Regions from separate parts of the Homo sapiens genome. Here regions 1, 3 and 4 are each linked to region 2. Evidence: promoter capture Hi-C in 16 types of primary human blood cells and fetal thymus (Javierre and others, 2016). All regions are on one chromosome and are shown on one strand. The core of a region is centred on a gene start or on the middle of the fragment in contact, and the rest is flanking DNA. Distances in the headings are between cores, read along the strand shown.

Evidence for each region. Contacts are between HindIII fragments. The CHiCAGO score rates a contact against its expected background, and 5 or more counts as called.
Region 1: a contact is called between a fragment that was not itself captured here and the fragment with the promoter of SLC4A4 in region 2, in 1 of 17 cell types (M2 macrophages). The highest score is 5.6, in M2 macrophages.
Region 3: the fragment with the promoter of UTP3 here is called in contact with the fragment with the promoter of SLC4A4 in region 2 in 2 of 17 cell types (fetal thymus and erythroblasts); the score reaches 8.0 in fetal thymus.
Region 4: a contact is called between the fragment with the promoter of GRSF1 here and the fragment with the promoter of SLC4A4 in region 2, in 2 of 17 cell types (fetal thymus and total B cells). The highest score is 9.1, in fetal thymus.

Annotation. Positions count from the first base shown.
Region 1 is chr4:71,691,411-71,694,791 of GRCh38, forward strand. No RefSeq gene overlaps it. Among named protein-coding and RNA genes, the nearest start is that of GC, 91 kb to the right of the region's middle. The HindIII fragment of the contact is 360 bases long and covers 1,809-2,168 here.
Region 2 is chr4:71,185,694-71,188,821 of GRCh38, forward strand. SLC4A4 (solute carrier family 4 member 4) reads left to right here and starts at 1,566. Exons shown (of 26, transcript NM_001098484.3): 1 at 1,566-1,708. LOC124900712 (a long non-coding RNA gene) reads right to left here and starts at 831. Exons shown (of 2, transcript XR_007058133.1): 1 at 1-831. The HindIII fragment of the contact is 10,115 bases long and covers 1-3,128 here.
Region 3 is chr4:70,686,719-70,689,971 of GRCh38, forward strand. It overlaps UTP3 (UTP3 small subunit processome component), which reads left to right and starts at 1,814. Exons shown (of 1, transcript NM_020368.3): 1 at 1,814-3,253. The coding sequence starts at 1,960. LOC101927297 (a long non-coding RNA gene) reads left to right here. Exons shown (of 4, transcript XR_938860.3): 4 at 1-98. RefSeq lists enhancers at 739-1,709, 1,090-1,179, 1,710-2,678, 1,880-1,939. The HindIII fragment of the contact is 6,672 bases long and covers 1-3,253 here.
Region 4 is chr4:70,837,841-70,841,280 of GRCh38, forward strand. It overlaps GRSF1 (G-rich RNA sequence binding factor 1), which reads right to left and starts at 2,050. Exons shown (of 10, transcript NM_002092.4): 1 at 1,631-2,050. The coding sequence starts at 1,987. LOC124900710 (a long non-coding RNA gene) reads left to right here and starts at 1,152. Exons shown (of 3, transcript XR_007058131.1): 1 at 1,152-1,305. RefSeq lists enhancers at 753-1,407, 1,408-2,061 and silencers at 1,458-2,007, 2,068-2,317. The HindIII fragment of the contact is 9,073 bases long and covers 593-3,440 here.

The DNA of each region.
Region 1 (3,381 bases), core at 739-3,238, 510 kb after region 2:
AGTGATCTGCCCACATCAGCCTCCTGAAGTGCTGGGATTACAGACCTAAGCCCCTGCACCCGGCCTATAATTAAAATTTAAATAGCTACATGTAGCTAGTGGCTACGGCATTGGACATCACAGCTCTAGAGTCTGCTTACCAATGCACCACAAAGCAGGTGCAAAATTCTGTACTTCCACTTGTCTCTTAGGTATGATGTAATGGAGGGAATTGGCAAGGCTCAGATTTATTTTGGAAGAGTACCACGTAAACAAGATATATCTTGTTGAGGCACCAATCTGTAAGGGGTGCTATTTCTTGTTCTACTACACTCTACTCTACACTCTGGAAACCCACTGAATAAAGCCAAATAATGCATTTCTAGTGCTAATCACCAATCACTTCTTTAAGTGGTGCTGATAAAACTCATGGTCAGTGCGAATAGGAAAGTCGCTGTGTTCTTTCTTTGTTTTGGGTCTATGCCTACGTTTCATTCTCAGCTAAACCCCATGCCAATCCTTCTCCCATACTCATGCTTACTAGACAGAGTCAGTAACAGTTCTGACAAATCCAAGTGCTATTATTTCTTTCTGACATTACACAACATCTTTCCTTTAAAGTACAGGACCACCTTGCATTGGCTATTGAGCTGTATTAACTATCTTCTAAACCTTTAGCTAACTGTTCTTTTATTATTTTATAAAGTTGTATAAATGCTGGTCACTCTGGCTCTTTTCCAGTATAAATGAATTCTATTTGTGCTATCTGTAAAACTTTCCCTCAGGGTCCTCCAAGAAGCAGATACCAGGATGAGATTAAACATATAAACTCTATTAGGGGAACATGCCTGTGTGAAGGAAATAGGAGAACCACCTGACCACTATGCACGTCTAACCCAGAATGAAAGAGAGAGAGACAGAGAGAGAGAGAGAGACAGACAGACAGAGAGAGTGTGAGTGAATGTTGGGTGGAGTGCCACACAGTTTTGGCAAAGCCACCAGGAAATCCTCAATACAAAGTTGGTCAAAAAAAAGTCCAGTGTTTCTCTGGAATGGGATCTGCCTTAGTATCAGTGCTACAGTCAGTCACTGGCTGGAGCAGCCTGTGAGAGGAGTAGCCTTGAAGCAAACCCTGGTACAGATTTCCAAGCTGGAGCCCTTGGTCCATTATGCTCTCTGGAATAAGACGTGAGCAAAACACATGCCTTGTACAATTCCTGCTTAAGTTATCATGGTTAGAAAAGAAAATGAAAGATAAAAGATGGGATGGCTAGAAAATAAAATATCTGAACAATACCTGGAAGACTTTCTTCTATTAGTCAGAATTGTCCCCACTTACTGCCTCAATGCTAATTCGAATTCTCTTCTATCAAATGTTTCCATGGCTGCAGATTTAGGGCTAGAAACTTTCTTCTTGTCACCTCTCTGGGCTTTTGTAAGTCCCCTCTATCTGCTTCTAGTTGTTTACTTCCAGAATATGCCAAGGAGAAACATTTTCTTTTGCATTCCATTTGCCAGCTTGTTATGTATTTATGTATAGTTTTGGATTCTTTGAAAAGGTCTGATAAATAATACACTGCATCCACATTCAGTTTCAGAATAAGTGAAGAACAGAAAGAAAAGGGTCAGTATATACAGGCCTCAAAAATGACCTTAATTACTAATAAAACTAGATAATTTGACTTTGTCTCTGTATAAGTTGGCCCCTGACGCTGTATCTAGAATTTGAAGGGCATCTATTCAGCTTCATTTGCACTAGAATAGGGCAGGAGTTTCCTGCTCCAAGTGTAGATTCTTCCCAAGCTGCAGAGGGTAGCATGTTTCCTGGAAGCTTCCATTCACAGTTACTCTCCCAAATTCACTGATCAGATTAAGTCTTTCTATGTATCTGGAACTAAATGAGAGGGGGAGGCAGAGAGAGGCCAGGAGTATTAAATTCACAGAAGGAAAGATCAATGGTGGGGAAGAGGCCTGACAGATAAAATACCAAAATGACACGTGTCAGGGATACACAGGCTTGGAAGCCAATTATTCTGTACTTTACAGTTGTTCTCCGATGATTTCCAGAATTCTGAGTTCAACTAATAGTTACATTTGTACACTACCTTCTCTTTGGATTCTTGAAAAATGTTTTTTCCCCACTTTTAGCTGAGAATTTTGGGTGAAAATCTTTTTGGAGAACTCAGGAAAGCTTTGGATTCTCCCTTACCAAAAAATGTATGCAGACTCAATTTTTTTTTTTTTTTTTTTTGCTTTAGTGACTAAAAACCAGAATGGATTTATTTATTGATTCAAAACTCCAGCTCTCTTTTCTATACTATTTTCATTTTGCATGCACACACACACTCACACACACACACTGGACTTGAGCTTCTGAAAGCCCTTTCTTTCAATTCTGTTTTTCTTTAGTCACTTGAGTCAAGCCAAAATTACTATAATCCTGACTTTTGAACTTGGAGAGCTTATGTGAAATGGTCCATAAACTCATTCTAAGAAAAGATTACTTAATGCCATTTCTGTATTACCGTGGAATTAAATCCCCTTTCTCAAACCCACTTCTACATTATCTTTCTTAGGTCAAAATCTCAAATTGAATTTTATGGATTTGGGGAAAGAATTTTAGTGATTGAGCCATGCTATACTGTGAAGTAGTACAATTAAAGTAGTATTGGGTGAGAACTTTGGCAATGGAGTAAAACAGAGCTGTACTTAAATCCTAGCTCTATGACCTTATAAAAATTACAAGGTCAATTTTACAAAAAACCTCAGATCTGTCTGAGATTTACATTCCCCATAAAATAAGGACAATAATAGTACTTTCGTCACAGGGCTATGGTGAGGATGAAAGGAGATGATGTATTTAAAGCATTTAGTATAGTGCCTGGCACATAATGAACTGGTGATAAAAATCAGTGATTCTTGCTGTTACTATTATTTTTACTCAACTTGCATTAACAGCATTTACTGCAATAGCTGACATGGAATTAATGCCTAAGAAATATTTACTAAATGAAGACTAGGGCAAATTTAGTCACCTTGGTCTTCTCATACCCAAGAGTAGTAGACCTTATCATATTGTATGCCACTGTATGATGGAAATCAAAATGGACTTAGCACCCTTTAGTTCTTCTGTGACCAGCAGAACCTGTCTGAAAACATAATAAGTAATGTAGTATCTCCAGCTATTATCCTCTTAGGAAAATATTTGTCAAATTTATATTTATTCAGAATTTTTTCTCTAGGATAATCAAAATGTTTCTACTTAGCGAACATACTCACCAAGAGCTCCATGACAGAGATGTTTCTCAGTCTGTCTATTTAAACAGACTCTTTTCAAAAATTGGTGCAATTCTTTAGAATAAAAAATCAGACTAAGTTAAAATTATAGACAGGTACAAATAA
Region 2 (3,128 bases), core at 316-2,815:
CCATGGATCTCTGGATCTCTTCCAGTTTTGAATACTAGAAAGAAAAGCCTCTGTCCTCAAATTATTTCCTCCCTACCCTCATTTTTTTTTTCTCTTGGAGGTCCTATAAGCTATAGCTTTGTATTGAAGAAATACTGGGGACCAGGAGCAGTTGGTATGTTAAATTATTTCTCTTGAGCTTTATGCATTTTGGTGGCTACTGTTGAAAACACAGTTTGGTCAGTGATGTCCACATACACATTACATATAATATGTATTACTAGAAAATGATATACACTTGCATGATATACCATGTGGTTGCAATCCATTAAGTGACTACTCTCTAGCAGTACCCAGAACAATAGATGGTGTGTCTGTGCTGACAGTCTGTTCATATCTTAATGGTTTACTTATGATTCAATAGTTTACCAATGGCAATGGTGCTGGATCACTGATATATTATTTGCTTGGCAAAGAGTACTTGAACCTCATTATTAGACTTAGGAACAGAATAAATACAAATAATCACTTTGCTAAGGCTGTTTTCCTAACTCCCAAGGAAGACAGAAAGGCATCAGTGACATAAGTGAAGGACACAGTTGACAACCACGTTATCTTCAGACATCTTTTGTTAAAGGTGAACAATTACTTAATACTGTGTTATGGCAGCACTCTATACGCCCCAAGTTTTATAAAGTAGAGTCAAGAGTGATCTGAGCTGGGAAACTCACGCAATTTTAGTTCTGCATGAAAGCACAGGCTCTCCCCACTGGGGAACTCTTTTGAGTAGGACAAAAAGCTGGACCTAGGACCCAGCCCAGGGCGTGAGAGAAAAGGAACCTGGGAGGCAAGAGCGGCCGGTCCGGAGCCGGGTCCTCCGCCAGCTCCGGGCGGGCGCTGCGCACAGAGCCCAAGCCCCCGGCGGAGGCGGCGCGGCTCGAGGCCCCTCCCCGCCGCCGATGCCCGGGCGGCTGACGCCGAGCAGCGGCCCGGAGCGGTGGGGGCCGGGCTGGCGGGCACGAGCGAGGGCAGGGCAGGGGGCCGGCCGAGGCCACTTACGGCTTTAAATATGGATCGCAGGCTCGCGCTCGCGGCACAGCCTCCGCCGCGGCCGCCTTCCGTGAGCCCCCGCACCCCGGCTTGCTCCCGAGGGGCGCCTGGGCTGGGCTCCACTGCTGCAGTGTTAGTTACTAGCAGGAACATCAGAGATCCCCATAAATATGCAGGAGCTGCAGGAGGCAAAGTAGAGTAGACGCCCGCGCTCTTACACACTCGCTCGCCGCGCACCACACAGGCTGTGTAGACATCCCCCCGCGCCACCTTTCCCCTTTCCTCGCGGGCCGTTCAGGTTGCAGTCCTGCCTGCTCCGAAGACCCTCCCGCCCCAGCGCCTTTGCCCCGCTCTCCCGCGCTCGCCTCTCTCCGGAGCGCGCACCCACCCAGGCGGCAAAGTTGTGACTACTTGGGCGCGGGTGACTGGCGCCCCGCTCGCTCCGCGCCCGGCGCAGACAACTTCCCGCGGCTCGGCCCCGCCGCGTCCCGGGCTCGCGCCTCCAGGGATTCCGCGGCCCCCCAGCCTCCAACCCCGGCGGCGCGCCGGGCAGCGCTTCGGTGGCGGCGGCGGCCGCGGTGGCAGCGAAGGCGGCGGCGGCGGCGGCAGTGGCAGTGGCCGCTGCAGCCCCACACTCCGCCGCCAAACTGGAGGAGCGACGGAAGCCAGACCCCAGGAGGTGAGCGCCCGGCCCCGGCAGCTGCCGGGAGGGTCGATGGGGTCCCTCGCTCCAAGGCGGAGGCGGGCGCGGGCCCGGGGGCCGATTCCGTAGGGCGCGCAGGCGGCCTCAGCGCGCTCCTGGGAGGGAGAGAGAGGTCAATTGCGGGCCGGGCATCCCCTGAGCTGGGCGCGGGCGGTGTGTGGAGGCTGCTTCCGCGGAAAAGTATTTTTTTTCCTTCTTAGGGTTTAGAGGAAGAGTTTGGGTGGTCTGCTTCTCCCTCACTGCTAAGTCCCCTGCGCGCAACTGGGCGTCTTTACGAGGACTGCGGGGCCAGTTCTGCGGCGGGCTGGGCTCGGGCTCAGTGACACGTGTGTTGCTGTGAGCCTGGGTGGTCGCCCTGTGACCAGGCACCTGCTTGAGAGGAACACATCCCTAAACCCATCACAGGGGGAGATTTGGGGACTCTTGGTGCTACCGAGGCCGCGGCCCCCACTTCACTGCCAGCTCCAGGACGGAGCATTTACATCTCTCCCTGGCACGCCAAAGGCGGGGGGTGAGTCAGGCAGATTCTCTGCAAGTGGCACACACACATTTATTTGCAATGGATTTGGCTAGGGGAGGCATAGGTTAAACTGGAATTTCTCTTGGCCAGCGACAACGGAGCTCTCCCTCAGGTACTGGGCAGCATGTGAGTCTTGGCAAAGAGAGGTGATTTCTTTTTTCTTAAGTGCATTTTACTCAGCCGTTGCCAGTCCGTTAATAAGTCACCAGAGGAAGGCAGGACCTGGGAACTACATCAGCAAACCGCAGCAAGCACCATAAAGACAAAAGTTCTTATAGAACAAAAAGAAAAACTTGAACTTGACGTGAAAGATGGAGGAAGCAGTTCTACCTCTCTTCTATCACTTTTTTCAGCGCCCTGTAAAACTGTTTTTTTCTATCCTTCCTTCCCTCTCAAGGCCCTACCTTCTCAGCATAATTGATCGCAGCAAGCTCTTTCCAACTTGACACTGAAGAGCAGCGACCCCTTTGGCTTACCCTCCCCATTTCTTTTCCTGGTTCGCTTCAGTGCCCTGGAAAGTTGCTCCTAATGAGAAATCAAGAACACTGGGCTGTACTAAACGCTCATTGTCTCAAATCCTGCAGCAGTTCCTTTCCTAAGAGACACTGTGTTGTACTGTATTTCTCTTTTTTCTTGTATCTTGGGACTTGGAGTTGTAATACTACCTGAATTAAATTAATTAAAGTGTACATTGCTCATTTGGGCTTTTTTTTTTCATTGTGATTTCAGTAGATTCGTCAATGCCATTAGAACAATATTCAGTAGCTTTTTATAGCCAATGTGATGTCTTTTGAAAACGTTTCTGACTACAGCTCTCTTTCTTGTGTCTTTCATATTAGCATGTAAATAATTTACATGGTCATTTTAGTACTTAGA
Region 3 (3,253 bases), core at 564-3,063, 500 kb before region 2:
ATTCTACAACAAACAGTAAGCAGTTAATATCTGCTAAATGACAAAATGTACTAAAATTTACATTAAAAAATAAATTCATGCTTACCATCAGAACATAACTTTTGCCCACAACTTTCTAATTTAATTTTATTTTCTAAAATCTTGTAAAAATTTCAAAATGTTTCGGACACCTTTAGGCACTTGGAAAATGTTTATTTCAAAGTATCACTTTTCTAACATTTTGCATTATTTTTATTAACCTAATGACACTATACTTTCTGAAAAGAAATTGTCACCATTGGCTGGGCGCGGTGACTCACGCCTGTAATCAATCCCAGCACTTTGGGAGGCCGAGGCGGGCGTATCACGAGGTCAGGAGATGGAGACCATCCTGGCCAACATGATGAAACCCCGTCTCTACTAAAAATACAAAAATTAGCTGGGAGTGGTGGCGCGTGCCTGTAATGCCAGCTACTCGGGAGGCTGAGGGAGGAGAATCACTTGAACCAGGGGGTCGGAGGTTGCAGTGGGCCGAGATTGCCACTGCACTCCAGCCTGGCAACAGAGCGAGCCTCCGTCTCAAAAAAAAAAAAAGAAAAAAAGAAAAAGAAAAAAGAAACAAAAAACAAAAGAAAAAGAAATTGTCACCATTAATTTTATTTTATTTATTTATTTATTTATTTTGAGACAGAGTCTCTGTCTGTCGCCCAGGCTAGAGTGCAGTGGTGCGATATCGGCTTACTGCCACCTCCGCCTCCCGGGTTCAAGTGATTCTCCTGCCTCAACCTCCCGAGTAGCTGGGATTACAGGTACCCGCCACCACGCCCCGCTAATTTTTTGTATTTGTAGTAGAGACTGGGTTTCCCCATGTTGGCCAGGCTGGTTTTGCACTCCTGACCTCAAGTGATCCACCCACTTCGGCCTCCCAAAGTGCTTAGGATTATGGGCATGAGCCACCGCGCCCAGCCATGTCACCATTAATTTTAGCAACGTATCAAAAGTTCAGCTTCCAACTACCTACATTAAAAGGTATAATAATACTAACCCTGAACCTTACATATGTAATGCCTAAAAACTTACACCCTGAATTACTCTAACATTACAGGGCAGACTTCCTTGAGAAGAGTCAGACCCTGCAGCGGGGCTCTGCCTTCCCACTGTCAGCCTCGGGGTCATCTAGCTTTATCGATCCCCATGGAGCGGGTCACCGAGCCCTGTGAGCAGGGAGAGGGCGATGGGGATGAGTAAACCCGAGCCGGAGGCCCGGCCTGCGCTCTCGCCCGGAAACCTCCCGTGGGATTCTGGAGTCCAGCGGCGCTGCCTGAGGCTGTGGTACCCAGAAATATGGTATTGGGGGTGGGGGTGAAATGAGAGGAAAGCAATCTGATTAACTTCCAGCCTGATAAGCAGAAAAGAGAAAACAAGGGAGCAGGAAAACTACGCTAGCACTAGACTGCCGGTCGCAAGCGCCGGGTACACACGCAGTTAAACCTCAATGGAACGCCCCCGGGACTTCTCCGGGGCGTAAAGCGCAGCGCCCTCTATTGGCCATCGGGACCTCGCCTGGAGGTGCCGTCAGGATTCCGTCCCCCAGCCACTCCCAGGCACTCGAGAGTAAGCGCATTAGCCCGAGAAAGCGTTCTGTGGAACGGAACTTCCTTATCCTATCGTTTCCACACGGAAAGATTTTAATTCACCGGAATCGACTGGCGTTAAAGGGCACAGTGAAAAGGAAGTTGGTATCAACGTGATCTCGACTAAGGGACCGAGCGGAAGTCCTCAATCGTACGCCACGCGGAGAGCATGCTGGGGGCCGGAAGGAAGAGGAAATTCCAGTAGCCGATCAGGAGTCTGCAAACTCCGGTGGTAGGGGAGCGCGCTGCTGTTTAGAGCCACGAGTTACCGGAGCGCCTGATTCCTGCGCCGAAGTCAGTGGTGGCCGAAAGTCCGGAGTCGCTGTAAAACCTGAGATTGTGAGCCATGGTGGGGAGATCCCGGCGGCGCGGAGCAGCTAAGTGGGCAGCTGTGCGAGCCAAGGCAGGTCCCACGCTCACCGACGAAAATGGAGATGATTTAGGATTGCCACCCTCACCAGGGGACACCAGCTACTACCAAGATCAGGTAGATGACTTTCATGAGGCACGATCCCGGGCCGCCTTAGCTAAGGGCTGGAATGAAGTACAGAGTGGAGACGAGGAGGATGGCGAGGAGGAGGAGGAGGAGGTGCTAGCCCTAGATATGGACGATGAGGACGACGAAGATGGAGGGAATGCGGGGGAGGAGGAGGAGGAGGAGAATGCCGATGATGATGGTGGGAGCTCCGTGCAAAGTGAAGCTGAGGCCTCTGTGGATCCCAGTTTGTCGTGGGGTCAGAGGAAAAAACTTTACTATGACACGGACTATGGTTCCAAGTCCCGAGGCCGGCAGAGTCAACAGGAGGCAGAGGAGGAGGAAAGAGAGGAGGAGGAGGAGGCACAGATCATTCAGCGGCGCCTAGCCCAAGCGCTGCAAGAGGATGATTTTGGTGTCGCCTGGGTTGAGGCCTTTGCAAAACCAGTGCCTCAGGTAGATGAGGCTGAGACACGGGTCGTGAAGGATTTGGCTAAAGTTTCAGTGAAAGAGAAGCTGAAAATGTTGCGAAAGGAATCACCAGAACTCTTGGAGCTGATAGAAGACCTGAAAGTCAAGTTGACAGAGGTTAAGGATGAGCTGGAGCCATTGTTAGAGTTGGTGGAACAAGGGATCATTCCACCCGGAAAAGGAAGCCAATACTTGAGGACCAAGTACAACCTCTACTTGAATTATTGCTCGAACATCAGTTTTTATTTGATCCTGAAAGCTAGGAGAGTCCCAGCACATGGACATCCTGTCATAGAAAGGCTTGTTACCTACCGAAATTTGATCAACAAGCTGTCCGTTGTGGATCAGAAGCTGTCCTCAGAAATTCGTCATCTGTTGACACTTAAGGATGATGCTGTAAAGAAAGAACTGATTCCAAAAGCAAAATCCACCAAGCCCAAACCAAAGTCTGTTTCAAAGACTTCTGCTGCTGCCTGTGCTGTTACAGATCTTTCTGATGATTCTGATTTTGATGAAAAAGCAAAACTGAAGTACTATAAAGAAATAGAAGACAGGCAAAAGCTAAAGAGAAAGAAAGAAGAAAATAGCACTGAAGAACAGGCTCTTGAAGATCAAAATGCAAAGAGAGCTATTACCTATCAAATTGCTAAAAATAGGGGACTTACTCCTAGGAGAAAGAAGATTGATCGCAATC
Region 4 (3,440 bases), core at 800-3,299, 350 kb before region 2:
TGTTGGTTAGCCTGCTATCGAACTCCTGACCTCAGGTGATCCACCCGCCGCAGCCTCCCAAAGTGCCGCGCCCAGCCCTATCTATAATTTTCATTAAGGCTTAATGTTAGGCCGGGCGCGGTGGCTCACGCCTGTAATCCCAGCACTTTGGGAGGCAGAGGCGGGCGGATCACGAGGTCAGGAGATCGAGACCACGGTGAAACCCCGTCTCTACTAAAAATACAAAAAATTAGCTGGGCGCAGTGGCGGGCGCCTGTAGTCCCAGCTACTCGGGAGGCTGAAGCAGGAGAATGGCGTGAACCCGGAAGGCGGAGCTTGCAGTGAGCCGAGATCATTCCACTGCACTCCAGCCTGGGCGACAGAGCGAGACTCGGTCTCCAAAAAAAAAAAAAAAAAAAGGCTTAATGTTTAGTTTTAAGGAATAAATGTAAGCAGTGTCTAACACATAGTAGATGCTCTACAGATATCACCGCAGTCAATTTCATAGAAAAAAAAAGAGAGAAGCTAGCTCACAAAGGTTTACTGGAGATGGTTTTGTTGTGGTTTTTGTAGACAACTTTCCCCATTTTTCCATAATTCCATAAGCATCACAAGCTTTTACAGAAAAAGGCAGCGTAAAGTATTGGGCCAGGATTCAAATCAATTAGCTCAGCCACTGGCAGACAGCAGCCATGCTGATTAGCCTCCCAGTCTCCCTAAGTTAAAGGAGAAGCACAAATTGAATTAAGATAAATATGACCTAAGGAATCAGGGGCTGGGTAGTTAAAAAGTGTGCAGACACTTCCCAGATGCCACGTACCAAGAAGAGAAAGGTTCATCTACAAAGCACAAAATATTTGCAATCTAACTACACACCGACTTTTCTAAAAAAATAAAGAAAAAATGGAAAGGAAAACATTGCAAATTCATTCCTGGGACCCCAAGTTGTGTCCTCAACCCTCAACGCTCCCTCCCATTCACCCCCTCCCCCCAACAGCTAAATCTCCAAACTGCTTTCCCAGACGAGGCGACACACAGTCCTTAAAGACCTTCTGTATGAGTGGAGTTGCAGAGGTGACCTTCAGTAAACCGGGACAGCTCGTCTTTCCCTGGGGACAGGAGAGGGAACGGCGCGATGGGGACAGGCTCCTTCCCTACAAGCCAGCCCACGCAACTGTGTGCGCGCACCTTCCCAGCAGCGGCCGACCGAGAGGCGCCGAGGGCCGCCCAGGCCTAGCGCTCGGGCTGCACGGAAACTCCCAACCCTCCGGCGGGCTCGGGCCTCGCAACTTCACAACCAGCCGGCGGAAAGCAAGAAGATGCGAGGTGGGGGCGTCAGCAGCCTCACGAAACCTACCATGGGCCAGGCGGGGAACAAGGCCTCAACATTCACCCCAGCCACACTTACACTGCCCAACCGACCAGAGACTCGAGGCGAGAACAAAACAAGCAGAAGACCCGACGCCTGGGAGAGCTTCCCTTGTTCCAGGGCCCAATAGGAGCACAGGGTGGACGGGGGCGGGTGTGCGGCGAGTGTCGCGGATCCCCGGGCGTGCCCGCGAGGCGCACACGGAGGGACGGAGGGGCGCGGGGGCGCGTGCACGCGGCCCGGGAGGGATCTCGCGCCAGGTCCCTCACGGCGCCCACGTACCTGGCTGTAGCTGCGCGTCGGGACGGCGGCCGCCGCCGCCAGCGACTGCGGCAGCAGAGAGGCACGGAGGGCAGAGTAGGACGCGGCGGCCGCGGCCGCGGCAGAGGTGGCCACAGCGGGAGGCCCCGCCAGCCTCCCGGGAGGCACAGGCCCGGTCTGGAGGCCACGCGTCTGGGAGGCAGCGGCCGCGGCGGCCCCGAGCAGCAGCAGCAGGCGGCGGCGGCCCGAGACGCCCGACGGGATAGAGCCAGCGGCGGAGTAGAAGGGCAGGCAGGCGGCGCCGGTGCGCCGGCAGCTGCTGCAGTTACAGCCGCAGCCCCGGAGCAGCGCCCCGAGTACCCAGCGCGTGCCGGCCATGGACTCCGGAGGCGGCGCAGGGCCTGAAGGCAGCTGCTCCAGCAGCGATGGTGGAACGGAAGTGGAATCCAGGGCCGGTTGGGGGTGGGGTGTGCCTGGCACATGCGCCGCGGGCACTGGGTGGGGGGCCTCCGAGAGTCGGAAGGAGGTGGAGGAGAGCGCGACGCTCCGCCCAGTCTCCGCCCTTGGGCGGGGCTGCCCATGGTTTGGGCGGGGCTGCCCATGGTTTGGGCGGGGCTGCCCATGGTTTGGGCGGGGCTGCCCATGGTTTGGGCGGGGCTGCCCATGGTTTGGGCGGGGCTGCCCATGGTTTGGGCGGGGCTGCCCATGGTTTGGGCGGGGCTGCCCATGGTTTGGGCGGGGCTGCCCATGGTTTGGGCGGGGCTGCCCATGGTTTGGGCGGGGCTGCCCATGGTTTGGGCGGGGCCCGGGGAAGTGGGTGCAATCGAACTGCTCTTTTTTCAGGCGGTGGAAACTGAGGCCCAAAGTAAGTGAGGCTAGGGGCCTGGCGCAGTGACTCATTCGTAGTGACTCATTCTTGTAATCCTAGCACTTTGGCAGGCAGAGGCGGGTGGACTGCCTGAGGTCAGGAGTTCGAGACCAACCTAGGCAACACGGTGAAATCCCGTCTCTACTAAAATACAAAAAATTAGGTCGGACGCGGTGGCTCCCGCCTGTAATCCCAGCACTTTAGTAGGCCGAGGTAGGGCGGATCACCTGAGGTCAGCAGTTCAAGACCAGCCTGGCCAACATGGTGAAACTGTGTCTCTACTAAAAACACAAAAATTAGCCGGGTGTGGTGACGGGTGCCCGTAATCCCAGCTACTCAGGAGGCTGAGGCAGGAGAATCGCTTGAACCCAGGAGGCGGAGGTTGCAGTGAGCCAAGATCGTGCCACCGCACTGCAGCCTGGGCGACAGAGTGAGACGCCATCTCCAAACAAACAAACAAAAAAATTAGGTTAGGGCCATCCTGCTCTGGGTAGGGCCGAGAGCTGTAGCACAAGTCTGTGCTGCCCTGCGCTGTGCCACCGAAACCCGTGGTGTGAGTGGCTAAAGAACCCTTTCTGAAAGGAATTGTGATACCTTGGTTATAAAAAAATCGTTGGGATAATATCAGAGATTTGGTACCCCCCGAATTTGAGGTATGTGAGGAAGGAGAACTTCGTTGTTTTAAAATGAAATATAGGCCTGGCGTGGTGGCTCATGCCTATAATCCCAGCGCTTTGGGAGGCTGAAGTGAGAGGATCACTGGAGCCCAAGAGTTCCAGACCAGCCTGGGCAACATAGGGAGACCCCGTCTATACAAAAAATAAATAAAGCTGGGTGTGATGGCGTGGGCCTGTAGTCCCAGCTACTTGGGAGGCCGATTGCTTCAGCCCAGAAGGTAGAGGCTGTGGTAAGCTATGATTGCCACCACTGAACTCCAGCCTGGGTGACAGAGTGAAACCCTGT